3 separate regions of the Homo sapiens genome follow, and all the other regions are linked to region 1. Evidence: promoter capture Hi-C in 16 types of primary human blood cells and fetal thymus (Javierre and others, 2016). All regions are on one chromosome and are shown on one strand. Each heading gives the region's core, a stretch centred on a gene start or on the middle of the fragment in contact. The rest is flanking DNA. Distances are from core to core; before and after follow the strand shown.

Region 1 (4,888 bases), core at 1,367-3,866:
GATTGGCCATGGATTATGACAGAAAGAGGAGTCAAGTACAACTCCAGGGTTTTTGGCCTTGGCCACTGGGAAGATGGAGTTGCCACTTACTGAGACAGAAGTCACCGTAGGAAGAAACAAGGTTTTGCGGGGGAGGTGGTGCGATAGGGGTGGGGCAAGGAACCAAATCACAGGAAGGATAAAGGTGGGGCTATCTTCAGGCTGGCACAGGAATTCAAACGCTCTCAGAACTCATGCCTCTTCATCTTTTGTCTCTGGTTCTCTTCCTTATCAGCCTCATTCTTTCCTTCTACAGACAGCGATCTCCTGGACATGAAAGATGGACAAGCTGATACCCAGCTTGAGCTCTCAAGAGAACAGAAAGGCGTCTCACACTCTCCACAAAGCTAGAAACAAACAACACTGTGGAGGATTTTTACTGGTCATACATTGGGTCATGTGCCCTTCCCTGAGCCAATCTGCAGTCAGAAGGATGAAGTACTCTAATTGGCCAGTTTTGGGTCACGTGCCTGTTCCTGGCTGTCATTGCACCAACACATCAGGGAATGGGGAGTTGAGGAGTGAGGAGCTTCCCCTACACAGAGAGACGGTGGGTAGCCCATTTGTCCGCTAAAACCTTCAAGATACATCTAGAATGCATCCATCCACATCGTGCTAGGCTGAGCTACTATCACCTGGTACTTGGAACCGCCTCCTCACTGGTCTACCGTCTCCCTTGCAAACATTTTCTACAACAGCCAGTAATCCCTAAACATGAATCCCATCACATCACTCTCTTCCTGTGCTCAGCTTCCCATTCTCAAGGGAAGTCCTCCCATCTTCTAAAGAATATCTACCTACCCAGCCCAATTATATATGAGCTTTTTAGGTTTTTTTTTTTAGAGCAAAGGAATGACAGGTTTTGTCAAGCTGCAGGTGACTATAAGATACAGACAGCTGACAATTGTGGACTCCTCAGGCGTGGTGAAAGATTGAGCTACTATCATTAGGGTTGGCTGGCTAGGACCCCGGCAGGCACCTGGGGATAGTAGTGCTGGGAAGTTCTGGGGAGTTGCACTTCTGAATGCTGGCATGACACTGCCTCAAGACATCTCTCTATCCAAATGGAAAAAACAACCACATCCTTTGTCAGCTAAGGAGAGTTAGCAAACTGTTTTTATTAAATACTGATGTCTGGCCGGGCACGGTGGCTCACGCCTGTCATGCTAGCACTTTGGGAGGCCGAGGCGGGTGGATCACTTGAGGCCAGTAGTTCAAGACCAGCCTGGCCAACATGGTGAAACCCCATCTCTACTAAAAATACAAAATTAGCCGGGCGTGGTGGCGGGCGCTTGTAATCCCAGCTACCCGGGAGACTGAGTTAGGAGAATCGCGTGAACCCAGGAGGCGGAGGTTGCAGTGAGCCGAGATCGCGCCACTGCACTCCAGCCTGGGTGACGGAGTGGGACTCTGTCTCTAAATACATAAATAAATAAATAAATAAATAAATAAATAAATAAATAAAAATACTGATGTCTCCAAGCTTTGGCTATGTGTTGCAATGTACAACCTTTCCAATGTCGCTGCACCATTGCATTTAGAGGAAATCTCCATTCCCTAACAGGAACTACAAGGCCCCCTGCATGACGTGGCCCCTGCTGCCTGTTCAGCTCCTTGGCTCGAAATCCTTCCCCTTATCTTGCTGATTTTGTTTTAGTCCCAATGTCTCCTGCCCCCTCACCTCAGTTTCTTGAATACGTCAAGACTTCTTTGTCTCTGAGAGGTAGCTCAAGTTTTCTTCTCTCTGCCTGGGGGGTGGCTGCGTCTTTTTGGTTCTTTTTAGTTAAAAGTCTCACCAAAGAGGTATTTTCCTGACCCCTTACCTAAACTAGTGCCTGCTCAGTTATATTCTCAATCATAACACTTTATTTCCTGTATAGCACATATCAAAATTTGTGATCATTTCATTTGTTGAATATTTTACCTCGTGGCAAAATCACACGCCATCCTCCAAGGGGCGAGACCCCTCAGTGTGAAAGGGGCAAGAGACACAGAACAAGAGTGACAAACGCATAGGAAAGCCCAGAGGCCGCTGCCTTGACCACAGTGGGTCGCTCTGAGCAGTTCAGTGGTTAGGTCTCTTAACCAAGAAAGATAGAGCAAACCATTCATGCTCATGCTGGACTTCTGGTTTCCTTCTTTTTAGTCAACTAGGTTCAACCCTGATGGTCCAAGAAGGATATGCCATTTTCATCCTAAGAACCTCTCTAGGAACCCCAAGTGGGCTCCCCACTTGGTATTTTTGCTAAGCAATCACTGTTGGGGGGGGTACAATTACAGGCAGAAAGGATCTGAGCCCCACCCCTCGGGACTCAGGAATTTGAGGACCTTGGTCTTTAAGATCTGCCCCATCAGCTTTCAGAAAGGGCGGGGCGACGGGAGCAGCTGTCACCTCCTTCTCTCCACCCTGCCGGCGTTCACGTGTGTTCCGCTGTGCAGTAACAGCTCTTCTTCCGGGACTTCCTGGTCGCCGCGACCAATCAAAATGCTTTTCCTGTCCTTACCATTGTCAGCCGCTGCCAATCGGCTCGCCTCTACCAACGCCCCTTAAAGGCGCAGCCACTGCCTCCGGAGCCGGGGCGAACCAATTCCTCCGTTGCGGCCCCCACCTGCAGTATGGAGTCGTCTCGGGGGCGGCCCGGGCCCGAGACGGACCTTCTGGCTGTAGCGGAACATCAGGCCCTAGTCTTTGGCGGCGGGCCGGGCCGAACGTCCTCTGAGCCGCCCGCAGGCCTCCGGGTGTCCGGGGAGGAAGAGACCGAGAACGTTGGGGGCGCGAACCGCCACCCCAGGACGTCCCCGAAGACGTCAAGCTGCGGCGTCGTCCACCGGCCGGAACGGGAGGCTCTGGAGAACGAGCCCGGCCCTCAAGGGACGCTGTCTGGGGCCGGGAGCCGCAGGGGGGCGCCGGGTGCAGAGCACGAACCTTCCCTGTCCTCCCGGCACAAGAACCCGGCGCCGCCCGAGGGCAAGCCCTCCTCCGGGAGGGACTGCCGTCGAGGGGGACCAGGCGGCGGGATGGATGTTGAGCAGCAGGAGGAGGAAGACAACGACGAGGAGGCGGCCGCGGGCAGCAGAGCCGGCCGCTCGTTCTCCAGCCGTCTTCAGGACAGCCGCAGCCTGGACGGGCTGAGCGAGGCGTGCGGTGGCGCCGGGTCCTCAGGGAGTGCCGAGTCCGGCGCGGGCGGCGGACGCCGCGCCACCATCTCCAGTCCCCTGGAGCTCGAAGGCACAGTGAGCCGCCACGGCGACCTTACCCACTTTGTCGCCAACAACCTGCAACTCAAGATCCGTCTGAGCGGCGCGCCTCCACCCCCGCCTTCTGCCCCTGCGCGGCCCTGCCCAGCGCCTGCACCCACACCCACACCGGCCATTCCCCCAATCGACCCCGAGGTGCTGCGGGATCTGGAGCGGTTGAGTCGGGAGCTGGGAGGCCGGGTGGACCGTCTGCTTCGCGGTCTGGGTGGCGCGGTGCAGGAGCTGACGGCGCTGAGCGTGGGTTGCATCCAGACCTACCGCGATGCTGTGGACTCCTTAGGTGAAGCCGTGGACATGAGCATCAAGGGCATGTACACCCTGCTGGCGCGCTGCGAGGAGCTGGAGCGGGCTCTGCAGCCGGTTCAGGGGCTGGCGCGCCAAGTCCGGGATATCCGACGTACTCTGGAGGTGTTGGAGGCCCTGTGCAAGTGACCAGGAGGACAGGAGAGGCCGGTCCTGGCCAGGGCAGGGCCCAGCAGGACCCTAAGGACTCTTCAGGGAGTCCTGGTGGGAAGTGCCCACTGAGGGGAGGCCTGTGTGTTGGAGGCTCTTCCAGATGCGTTCAGCTGGCCCGTGCCCACTCGCTGGGCCTTAGGCTGGTGTATGTGGGGAAGTTCTAACGGCTCTCCTGGTGGGAAGGGATGTTGCTCTGCTTGTATTCAGTTGGCCATCTGTAGCTACCCTGTTCTTCCCAACTCTCCTCCCTAGCTAGAGCACCAGCCCTGGGAACACGGGGCTTTAGGTCTGCTTGAAGGTGAGGACGTGACTCCCACATGTAATCAGGAGAAAGGGACAGAGGAAGCCCCAGCCCCCACTGTGGCTATCCTGACTCCAGTGGCCACATCTCAGGTGCCAGGGGCTGTGGGAGCTTGTGCCGTCCTTGGCCAAACACCCCGCAGGCAAAGATGCACCCCTGCTGATGGAGAGCCTTCTGCTTCTGCCCTCTGGCCCTCTACCATACCACTTCCCCAGCCAGAACCGGCGTGCAGCTAGGAGGAATGGGTTGCACGGCGGAGGGGGTGAGGTGGGAGGCGTCTCACTGCTCTCAGGGTTCAGGTAGAATGTTGCTGGTTTTGAAGCTCACCTGTTGTGGAGTGTTCTAATCAGTTTTGGCTTTCTGAGTTTTTGTGGAATTAAAGTGCTGCTGCTGCGAAGGCTGAGGCTGAGTCTGTGTGGGGTTGCAGTGATTAATAAGCCAAAGGAATGGGAATGAGGGTCGGTGTTGTTCACGCAGCTCCCTTGGGGCTGGTGCTGGGAGTGGGGTGGGGGTGGAGATGTCTCAGGCTCCGTGGGGAAAGATATGGTTCTTGCTCTTAAGCATCTGGTCTGAGGGGAAATGTGAGGACACAGATAATCACTCACAGGGGCCCAGAGATCCGGTAACCACAGAAACGTAAAAAAGATGCTCTAGAAGAGAAGGGGAAGAAATTGTCTTCTCAGGTCCTCATGAATAGGCAGGGGCTGGGTGGATTGGACGGACATCTTACCTCTGGGGGAAGACTGGGAACACTTGTCAGCTCTATTCCTGACCATTTCCCACACTCTGCAGATCAGTGCCACGTGGTTTGAGACAAATTTGTCCCAAAGCCTT
Region 2 (4,888 bases), core at 965-3,464, 130 kb after region 1:
CCTCGCCCTTCCTCCCTCACCCTGCGGACCTGACACCTTGGTGTGGGGAAGATGAAGGTACACTGATCCCTTTTCCAGACCCCTGGCTGCCCAGCAGTCCTGCAGTTTCAGGGCAGTGTTCCTGCAGAAACAAAGACAGAATGGCCCAGGCTGTGGAGGGGATCCAGGTGCAGAAAGGGAGATCTTAGCCCCCAGCCTCTCCCCTCCTCTCCCCAGACCTGGGGTGGGAGCATCTTTGAACCAGGGTGTTGGCCAGCCCCTGGCCTCTGCGTCTGCTTTGCCTCTTCCCCCAGGGATGGAGAAGCCCTGCCCACTCCACCTTCCCCCCACGGCAGACCCTGCTTCAGCACCTGCTTCAGCACCTGAGGTCGTCCCCATCCGTTCACTGAGCCCCAACTCAACAGCCCAGGCCAGAGGGGACCAAAGAGTAAAGTCGGTGGGAAGAGGAAAGAGAAGACATAGCTACACCCACCACCCCCAATACTGGGCCACGATGTTCTGCCCCCAACCCCTCTGCTTCACAGGCCTGTTCTCTTTCCACCAGCTTCTCCCTCTTCCACTCACTGATCCACCACTCAACTTCCCCACCTAATCCTCTTGTCAGAGCCGGTGCTCCCCTCCCCCACTTATCTTCCATCCTCCCCTCCCTGAGTATGGTTCCTCCCAACCATCCCACCTCCTCCTTCCCGTGCCCCTCATGTCACCTTTCTGCCTCCCCCCTCCCCACTGTGTCCACACCAGCCCCCCTCCCCTGACCCATGACCACCCTGGTCCCCCTCGCTCCCTCCATGCCCCTCCTGCAGCCCCGGCCCTGCCCTTTGCCTGCCCCCTCCAGCCACTGGTAAGGGGGAGCGGAGGGGGTCCCCAGCAGCCTCAGCTGGACCCAGCGGCAGACCCCGGAGTCTGGGCCGGACCTAGAGGGGGCGAGGCAGCGTGGCGGGGGGCGGGGGGCGGAGGGGGTAGGGGTGAGGTGGGGGAGGCGGGGAGGCCGGCGGGGGGAGGGGTGGCAGAGGGGAGGGGAGGCGGGGGACGCCTTGTGCAAACGCAGCAGCAGCACCTGGCCCGAGTCCTCAGGGAGCGTCACCTGGAGGTCTTCCTTTCGGGGGGCGGGGGAGTGGGCAGAGGGAGAAGGCATAGTAAAGAGTGGCTTATTACCTTTTGTTCCCCAGGACGCTTCCCCTTTCCACACTCTCATTCCGGAGGTCGCCATAAGCAACTTCCACAATTCTGGATGTTCCAGACCCACGACCGGACTAATTTTTGGTGGAGGGGGAGCAGTATCTTTATCTTCCCACTTTAATGGGTATGTTGATTCAAATCTTCTAACTAAAGTGGGGGGATTATATGGATCATTTCTATATTCGATCATAAAGGAGTCCCCAGCGCACCCAGCGTTTTGTCCGGTGCAATTTCTAGCAAAAGATTCCTTAGGAGCCCAGTCTATAATGACCCCATGAGAACCATTTCGCAAAACTACCGCATTATCTGCCACACAAACCTCCCAAGTAAGAATTTCTCATTTTTCTGACCATTCTGGATTCCTTTTAGGGCAAGCCAATCCCTTAGGCTTGCAATTTTGGACTTTTATATTTGACTGATAATAACTATCCCCTTAAGTTTTTACAGTCCTGATGGGTTGAAAAGACATTCCACTCACTACGTGATAACTAGGTTGAGAACGATTATGAGGAGGTACGTAGACCATCCAACTTTGTATTTGTAATGGCAAACATCCAGGAGCAATTCCTAAACAAACTGGAGGGTATTTATACCCAATTATCCCATTCATTAACATGCCCTCCTCCTCAGGCTATGCAGGACAGCTATCATAAGTCGGCCCAGGCATCCAGATACTACCATTTGTATAAACTTCAGTAGGGGAGTCCATCCAAGTGACAGGTCTAATCAAAGGAGGAAATGGAACATAAGCCCAGTAGTAAAATTTTGCTTAGCTGAAACAGCAGAGAGACTTACCGCCGTGGTGATTACCATCAAGGCAGCCAAGATCATATTACCCGGTGTAATCGCTAGTTGTTTCTCCTTTAGGGTGTCCTCTGCCAATTGAGTCAGCTTCTTTATCTGTCCCCATGTCAGTGGTGTAGCCTAGCGAGTCTTCTCCGTCTTCTGTTTTTTCTCCGAGACGCTCAGCTTCACCATTTTCCTCAGCTCCCGAAAAGACAGGTCGAAGGGACCGGTCTTCTTTCTCTTTTGATTCTTTCCTTTTTTCTGACCGGTCGGTGTAGGGTTCATTGTAGAATTTTAAATGTCTATTGGGTATCCAAATGAGTGTTTGATTGTCTCTTGGTGAAACACAAGGAAAACCCCTCCCCCAAGTAATACTTTTTCTTAATTTCCAAGTTTTGGTTCTGGTATCCTTCCACCAGACCATTTTTCCTTTCTGTGGCACACCCATGACTGCAAAACAAGATAATAAATGTCGTTTTACGTGAGCTGTGCTTTCTCCAGTTTGGCGTGTAGCCCAGATAAACCGAGAAAAAGTATTAACAGTAACATGTACGAAAGAAAGTTTTCCGAATGATGGGACATGAGTCATGTCCATTTGCCACACTGCATTTGGTTGAAGCCCCCTAGGGTTACCTTCAGGTTTTTGGGTGGGTAGCTGTAGCACTTGGCACTGAGGATGTTGTACTATATTTTTAGCTTGTTTCCAGGTAAATGAATATTTATTTTTTAATCCAGCAGCATTTACATGAATTAGGGAATGGAAGTTTTGAGCTTTTGTTCGCGTCTGTGTGAAGAGACCACCAAACAGGCTTTGTGTGAGCAACAAGGCTGTTTATTTCACCTGGGTGCAGGTGGGCTGAGTCCGAAAAGAGAGTCAGCGAAGGGAGATAGGGGTGGGGCCCTTTTATAGGATTTGGGTAGGTAGTGGAAAATTACAGTCAAAGGGGGTTGTTCTCTGGCGGGCAGGGGCGGGGGTTGCAAGGTGCTCAGTAGGGGAGCTTCTGAGCCAGGAGAAGGAATTTCACAAGGTAATGTCATCAGTTAAGGCAGAAACCAGCCATTTTCACGTCTTTTGTGATTCTTCAGTTGCTTCAGGGCATCTGGATGTATACGTGCAGGTCATAGGGGATATGATGGCTTAGCTTGGGCTCAGAGGCCGGACACTGTTAGAACAGGCGTCACTAATAAATTTGCTTGATTATTTAATAGGGTTAAAGGTCCTGGTAAGTTTGTGTGAGCCTAAATATGTGTAATATAAAAGGGAAAATTTTGAGTCCTAACTGCTTGTTGAAGTGAACTAAACAAGAAATTTAACTGATCATCAGAAATATGTTTTACTAAAGCTGTTTTTACCATTTTGGCAGCTTGGAATACGTAAGCAGAGTCAGAGATTATATTAACAGGTTGATTACAATCTTCCAATACAGATATAACTGCTTGTAGCTCAGCTCTTTGTGCAGAATGAAACTGAGTTTGAATAATCTTTTCTTCCGGTCCTGTATAAGCTGCTTTTCCATTCTGAGAGCCATCAGTAAAGATAGTTACGGCTCCCTCCAAAGGAATGGAACTAGTTATTTTGGGTAAAATTTAGGTAGTCAATTTTTAGGAACTGAAACATTTTAGTTTTAGGGTAATGAATATCTATACTGCCAACAAAATCAGCCAGATTTGACTGCCATTCTGACGAATTAATAAAGGCTTGTCGAACCTGTGCTTTGTTTAAAGGAACTACATTTTTATCTCGATCGGTGCCAATGAGTCTGACTATTCTCAGTTGTATTTGGCCTATAAGAATAGCTATTTGATCTAAATAAATTGAGAAAGTTCTAGTCGTACTGTGCGTTAAAAAGGACAATTTAACTAAGTCAACATTTTGAACAATCACTCCTATAGGAGAATGGAGAGTAGGGAACACTAAGAGCTGTAATGGAACACTAGGATCTCTTCTACGGACTTGAGCACTTTGAATTTTTTCCTCAATCATTTGTAACTCTTCAGCTGCAGCAGGCATCAGAGTTCTTTTGCTACATGAATTTGGATCCCATCTCAGCAAAGCAAACAGTTTAGACATTGCTTAGGTGGGAATTCCTAAAGTAGGTCTTATCCAATTAACGTCCCCTAATAATTTTTGGAAATCATTTAAGGTTTTTAAGGACTCTTTACGAATTTCCTCCTTTTGAGGCTTTACTGTTTTCTCCTGTACCCTCATTCCCAGGTAATGATAGGGTGTAGTATGGATTTTATCTGGTGCTATAGCGAGACCTGTAAGTCCCACCACTTCTTGTAGCCTAGCAAAACACTCAATCCGTCTGTCCCTGCTTGCAGCAGCACATAAAATGTCATCAACATAATGAATAATATAGCAATCAGGAAACTGATCCCTGACAAGCTGAATAACCTTTCCAACAAAAGTTTGACTATTTAACATTCCTTGGGGTACAACTTTCCATCGATATATAGTAGCTGGTTCCTTGTTATTCATGGCAGGTATTGTAAATGCAAATTTCTCAAAATCCTGAGGAGCCAAAGGAATAGTAAAAAACACAATCTTTTAGATCAATTATTACCATCGGCCATTCTTTTGGGATCATGGCCGGAGATGGCAACCCTGGTTGGAGAGCTCCCATCGGTTGAATGGCTGCGTTAACCGCTCATAAGTCGGTCAATATGCGCCATCTAGCGAATTTTTTCTGAATTACAAAAACTGGGGCGTTCCATGGTGAAAAAGATGGTTCAATATGTCCTTTGTCTAATTGTTCTTTTGCCAATGAATGTAATGCCTCCAGTTTTTGTTGAGGAAGCGGCCACTGATCAACCCAAACAGGTTTTGGAGTTTTCCGTTTTAATGCAATGGGCTTTGGAGGCTCAACAGTGGCCGCACCTAAGAAGGATATCCAATTCCTCTTCGGTCAAATTTAACTGA
Region 3 (4,888 bases), core at 848-3,347, 110 kb before region 1:
GGGATTACAATGATATTTGAGTCCCTTGGACCTCCCAGCTTCCAGAGGCATGACATTCCCTTTTGCGCTTGAGCTGGTTTTAGCTGGTTTTCTGTCACTTACTGCTGAAAGAACCTTGACCATTACAATTTATCCCCTAGTGCAGAACTGGGAGACAGTCCTCCTAGGGAAGCTTACACTCTTTACCATTACAAATAATTAGTGCAGCCGGGCGTGGTGGCTCACACCTGTAATCCCAGCACTTTGGGAGGCTGAGGCAGGCAGATCACTTAAGGTCAGGAGTTCATGACCAGCCTGGACAACAAGATGAAACCCCGTCTCTACTAAAAATACAAAAATTAGCCAGGCATGTTGGCACAAGCCTGTAATACCAGCTACTCAGGAGGCTGAGGCCAGAGAATGGCTTGAACCCAGGAGGCGGAGGTTGCAGTGAGCCAAGATCACACGATTGTACTCCAGCCTGGGCGACGGAGCGAGAATCCGTCTCAAAAAAAAAAAAAAAAAAAAGACTTCAATTTGAAGTCTTTTTGAAGTATTATTATTATTATTATTATTTGAGACAGAGTCTTGCTCTGTTGCCCAGGCTGGAGTGTAGTGGTGCAATCTCGGCTCACTGCAACCTCCGCCTCCTGGGCTCAAGCCATTCTCCTGCCTCAGCCTCCCGAGTAGCTGGGACTACAGGCGCCCGCCACCACGCCTGGCTAACTTTTTGTAGAGACGGGATTTCACCATATTGGCCAGGCTGGTCTTGAACTCCTAATCTTGTGATCCTCCCGCCTCAGGCTCCCAAAGTGCTGGGATTACAGGCGTGAGCCACCACGCCCGGCCTGAAATATTATTAATGAAGTAACCCTAGGAGCTTCAATGTGACTGGTTTAGACTTTGCTTGGAGAGTCTGTTCTGGAAGGATGAAGGAGCCCATAAGCGTCTGCTCCATCTCTTTGTGTCCACACCCAGCAGCCTCCTTCGGTCTTCCTCATGTCATTGACCTGTTGGTTGGAAAAAGTGGGTGTCAGGGAGAAGAGGCACTTTGACTGTTCATTTAAAATCAGGCAGAGGGGTTTAGCCAAGCCAAGAGGCAGGGCATGAAGGAGCATTGTGGGAATCCAGGGAAGCGCAGGCACAGCGAAGAGGAAAGTAGGCACGTCTGGAGAACCGTGAAAGGGAAACAAACTGATCTGAAATGAAAAGAGGGACACATGGAGGCCATATCGTGAGCAATCACACCGGGCAGACAGGCCCTGAAGGTTTCAGAGCAGAGTAGGGGGAGTGGATCACGATAGTTTTTGTTTGTTTGTTTGTTTGTTTTTGAGACAGGGTCTTAAAATCGCCTTTGTAAAGTTATAACTGAGGAAATTATGACAGTGAAAGAAATCAGACCTCACCAGTTCCATGTTGCTTCTAATCTTTAAGCTGTCCTTGTTCATTCCTCAGCGTAGGCTGAACTAACTTTGGGAAGGAATTCAGTTCATGGTTTGACTCTGAAACAAAATTGTTAATAGTCCTTAACTGAAAAGACCCCCTTCTTGCCTGGGGACCAGTCTGCCTTTGCAGGACTAACAAATTGACAGATTAGCTACAAGATTATAAATTAGTTTGGGGGTCATGCAGCCGCTGGCTCTATGAATCAGCTGATACCACCCAGACCTTAATCTGGCACCACCTGTTCTGTCATCACACCCAGGAACAGAAGACAGCAAGAAAACCTCACTTCGACCCCCTGCAATTCCATCTCCAACCTGACCAATCAGCACTCCCCACTTCCCAAGTCCCTACCCGCCAAATGATCTTTAAAAACTCTGATTCTGGTAGCCGGGTGCGGTGGCTCAAGCCTCTAATCCCAGCACTTTGGGAGGCTGAGGCGGGCAGATCACGACGTCAGGAGATCGAGACCATCCTGGCTAACACGGTGAAACCCCGTCTCTACTAAAAGTACAAAAAATTAGCCGGGCGTGGTGGCGGGGGCCTGTAGGCCCAGCTACTGGGGAGGCTGAGGCAGGAGAATGGCGTGAACCCGGGAGGCGGAGCTTGCAGTGAGCCAAGATGGCGCCATTGCACTCCAGCCTGGGCGACAGAGCGAGACTCCGTCTCAAAAACAAACAAACAAACAAACAAACAAACAAAAAACTGATTCTGCTTGGGGAGACTGATTTGAGTAATAATGTAATAAAACTCCCGTTTCGGCTGGGCACAGTGGCTTATGCCTGTAATCCCAGCACTTTGGGAGGCCGAGGTTGGCAGATCACGAGGTCAGGAGTTCAAGGCCAGCCTGGCCAACATGGTGAAACCCTGTCTCTACTAAAAATACAAAATATTAGCCGGGTGTGGTGGCGCACGCCTGTAGTCCCAGCTACTCGGGAGGCTGAGACAGGAGAATCGCTTGAACCCAGGAGACAGAGGTTGCAGTGATCAGAGACCATGCCATTACACTCCAGCCTGGGTGACAAAGCGATACTCCGTCTCAAAAAAAAAATAAATAAATAAGATTTGGTTTAGGAGTCATGCAGCTGGAGGCTGCAAGATTCTGAACCTCCCCAAATTGCTCCTGGGGATAACATCATTCTTGTAAAACCTAAGATGAGTGCTTGTGATATTTTGCAGACCCTGCACTCAAAGCATCATCTGGCAACACCCGGATCAATAAACTGGTTCATCTGTTCTTGTGGCCCCCACCCAGGAACCGACCCAGTGAAAGAGGAGAGTTTCAACTCCCTGTGATTTCGTCTCCCACCTAACCAATTAGCACTCCCCACTTTCTGACCCCCTACCCACCAAATTATCAAAAACCCTGATCTCTGAATTTTCAGGGAGATTGACTTGAGTAATAATCAATTTTGCATGTGGCATGGCCGGCCTCGTGTCAATTAAACTCTTTCTTTACTGCAATGCCGTGGTCTTTATTTGTGCAGAGGACAGGAAGAGCCCACTGGGCAGTTACATTTCCACTGAGGATGCTAAGCTGGTGGAATATGGGCCTGCAGCTGCTAGTGGCCATCAGTGAGGTGGCCTGAGAATAAAACCGATACATGGCAGAGGTGGAGAGAGACAGATTTGAGTGCCTGATTCTGCTGGCCTGAAGTCATGTGTGTGTCTGGAGCTTTCAGTTGTGTGAGTCAATGAGTTCCCTTTTTGTAAGCTAGTTTGAGTTGGATTTCTGTCACTTACAACAAAACAATCCCTTATAAAGGGAGCTTCTAATAAAAGAAGTGTTGAGTCCAGCTCCCTCCGGTAGGGCCAGGACTTGGAAGTCCAGTAGACTCTTTCATGGAGCACAGAACACCTGGGCCTCATTTCTGTCTGCAAAGCTGTTAATGTAGGTAGCCTGCCTGTGATGGGGGATAAATCAGGAAGAAGCAGTAAGGAAAAGCTGGCCTGCTCTGGGAATTTATACAGGTTTTGGCCCAGGTGAGGATACACAGAGACGATCCTTCCTCACCACCACTAGGTGGAGTTTGAGCACTTCGGGTGCGCGCTCAGCAGCCAAAAGGAACCCATCAGTGTCTAGGCTACCAAGGAAGAGGCAAGAAAGACACAGCCCCCTGCCCTCCAAGCCTCCCCGTCTTTCTCGCTCCCTCTCTATGTTACCACCCCTTCTTTCAGACACCTGGGGACTTTTACGTTCCCTATGCAACTCCTCTCAAATCTGATTCATGACATTCACATCCAGGAAAAAATGGTAACAGCCTACAATAAATCAAGACAGCATGATATTGGTCAAAGGCTAGACACACAGATCAAGGGAACAGAAGTGAGGGCACAGAAATCGAGCCACACAAATATAGAAAACAGATTTTTTACAAAGGACCAAAGGAAGAAGAAGAAAGAAGAAGGAGAAAAAGAAGAAGAAGGAGAAGAAGAGGAGGAAGAGGAAGAAGACGACGAAGGAGGAGGAGGAGGAAAGAAGAAAGAAGAAAAGAGAGAGGAGGATGAGAAGAAACCAAACCCAGACCTCACATAATTTACAAAAATTAACTCAAAATGGATCATAGACCTAAATGTAAAAAGTAAAACTATAAAGCTTCTAGAAGAAAACATAAAAGAAAATCTAGGTGACCTTGGGCCTAATTATACATTTTTGGGTTTTTTTTGTTTGTTTGTTTTGTTGTTGTTGTTGTTGTTGTTTTTTGAGACGGAGTCTAGCTCTGTTGCCCAGCTGGAGTGCAGTGGTGCGATCTCGGCTCGCTGCAAACTCCGCCTCCTGGGTTGAAGTGATTCTCCTGCTTCAGCCTCCCGAGTAGCTGGGATTACAGGTGCCCGCCACCACACCCAGCTAATTTTTGTATTTTTAGTAGAAATGGGGTTTCACCAGGTTGACCAGGCTGGTCTCGAACTCCTGGCCTTAGGTGATCCACCCACCTCGGCCTCCCAAAGTGCTGGGATTACAAGCATGAGCCACTGCATCCGGCCTCAATTTTTTTTTTTTTTTTTGAGACAGAGTCTCACTCTGTCGCCCAGGCTGGAGTGCAGTGACGCGATCTCGGCTCACTGCAAGCTCCGCCTCCTGGGTTCATGCCATTTTCCTGCCTCAGCCTCCCTAGTAGCTGGGACTACAGGCACCTGCCACCACGCCTGGCTAATTTTTTGTATTTTTAGTAGAGATGGGGTTTCATTGTGTTAGCCAGGATGGTCTCGACCTCATGACCTGGTGATCCGCCCTCCTCGGCCTCCCAAAGTGCTGAGATTACAGGCATGAGCCACCACACCCGGCCAATTTTTGTATTTTTTTTTTTTAGTAGAGATGAGGGTTCACCATGTTGGGCAGGATGGTCTCGATCTCTCGACCTCATGATCCGCTGACCTCAGCCTCCCAAAGTGCTGGGATTACAGGCCTGAGCCACCATGCCCAGCCCTGATATATATATATATAGATAGATAGATAGATAGATAG

What was found. Contacts are between HindIII fragments. The CHiCAGO score rates a contact against its expected background, and 5 or more counts as called.
Region 2: a fragment that was not itself captured here is called in contact with the fragment with the promoter of BORCS6 in region 1 in 1 of 17 cell types (erythroblasts); the score reaches 6.3 in erythroblasts.
Region 3: a fragment that was not itself captured here is called in contact with the fragment with the promoter of BORCS6 in region 1 in 11 of 17 cell types (non-activated CD4 T cells, naive B cells, naive CD4 T cells and 8 more); the score reaches 11.6 in non-activated CD4 T cells.

The regions. Positions count from the first base shown.
Region 1 is chr17:8,187,908-8,192,795 of GRCh38, reverse strand. BORCS6 (BLOC-1 related complex subunit 6) reads left to right here and starts at 2,616. Exons shown (of 1, transcript NM_017622.3): 1 at 2,616-4,451. The coding sequence starts at 2,656. The coding sequence ends at 3,729. LOC124903913 (a long non-coding RNA gene) reads left to right here. Exons shown (of 2, transcript XR_007065604.1): 2 at 296-1,521. RefSeq lists enhancers at 240-339, 2,157-2,802, 2,545-2,824, 2,803-3,449, 4,588-4,637 and silencers at 2,935-2,984, 3,185-3,244, 3,315-3,364. The HindIII fragment of the contact is 3,696 bases long and covers 1,525-4,888 here.
Region 2 is chr17:8,060,147-8,065,034 of GRCh38, reverse strand. No RefSeq gene overlaps it. Among named protein-coding and RNA genes, the nearest start is that of ALOX15B, 24 kb to the right of the region's middle. RefSeq lists an enhancer at 187-688. The HindIII fragment of the contact is 6,181 bases long and covers 1-4,888 here.
Region 3 is chr17:8,299,386-8,304,273 of GRCh38, reverse strand. It overlaps LOC124903915 (a long non-coding RNA gene), which reads left to right. Exons shown (of 2, transcript XR_007065606.1): 2 at 2,602-2,886. It overlaps LOC124903914 (a long non-coding RNA gene), which reads right to left and starts at 273. Exons shown (of 2, transcript XR_007065605.1): 1 at 1-273. The HindIII fragment of the contact is 3,846 bases long and covers 175-4,020 here.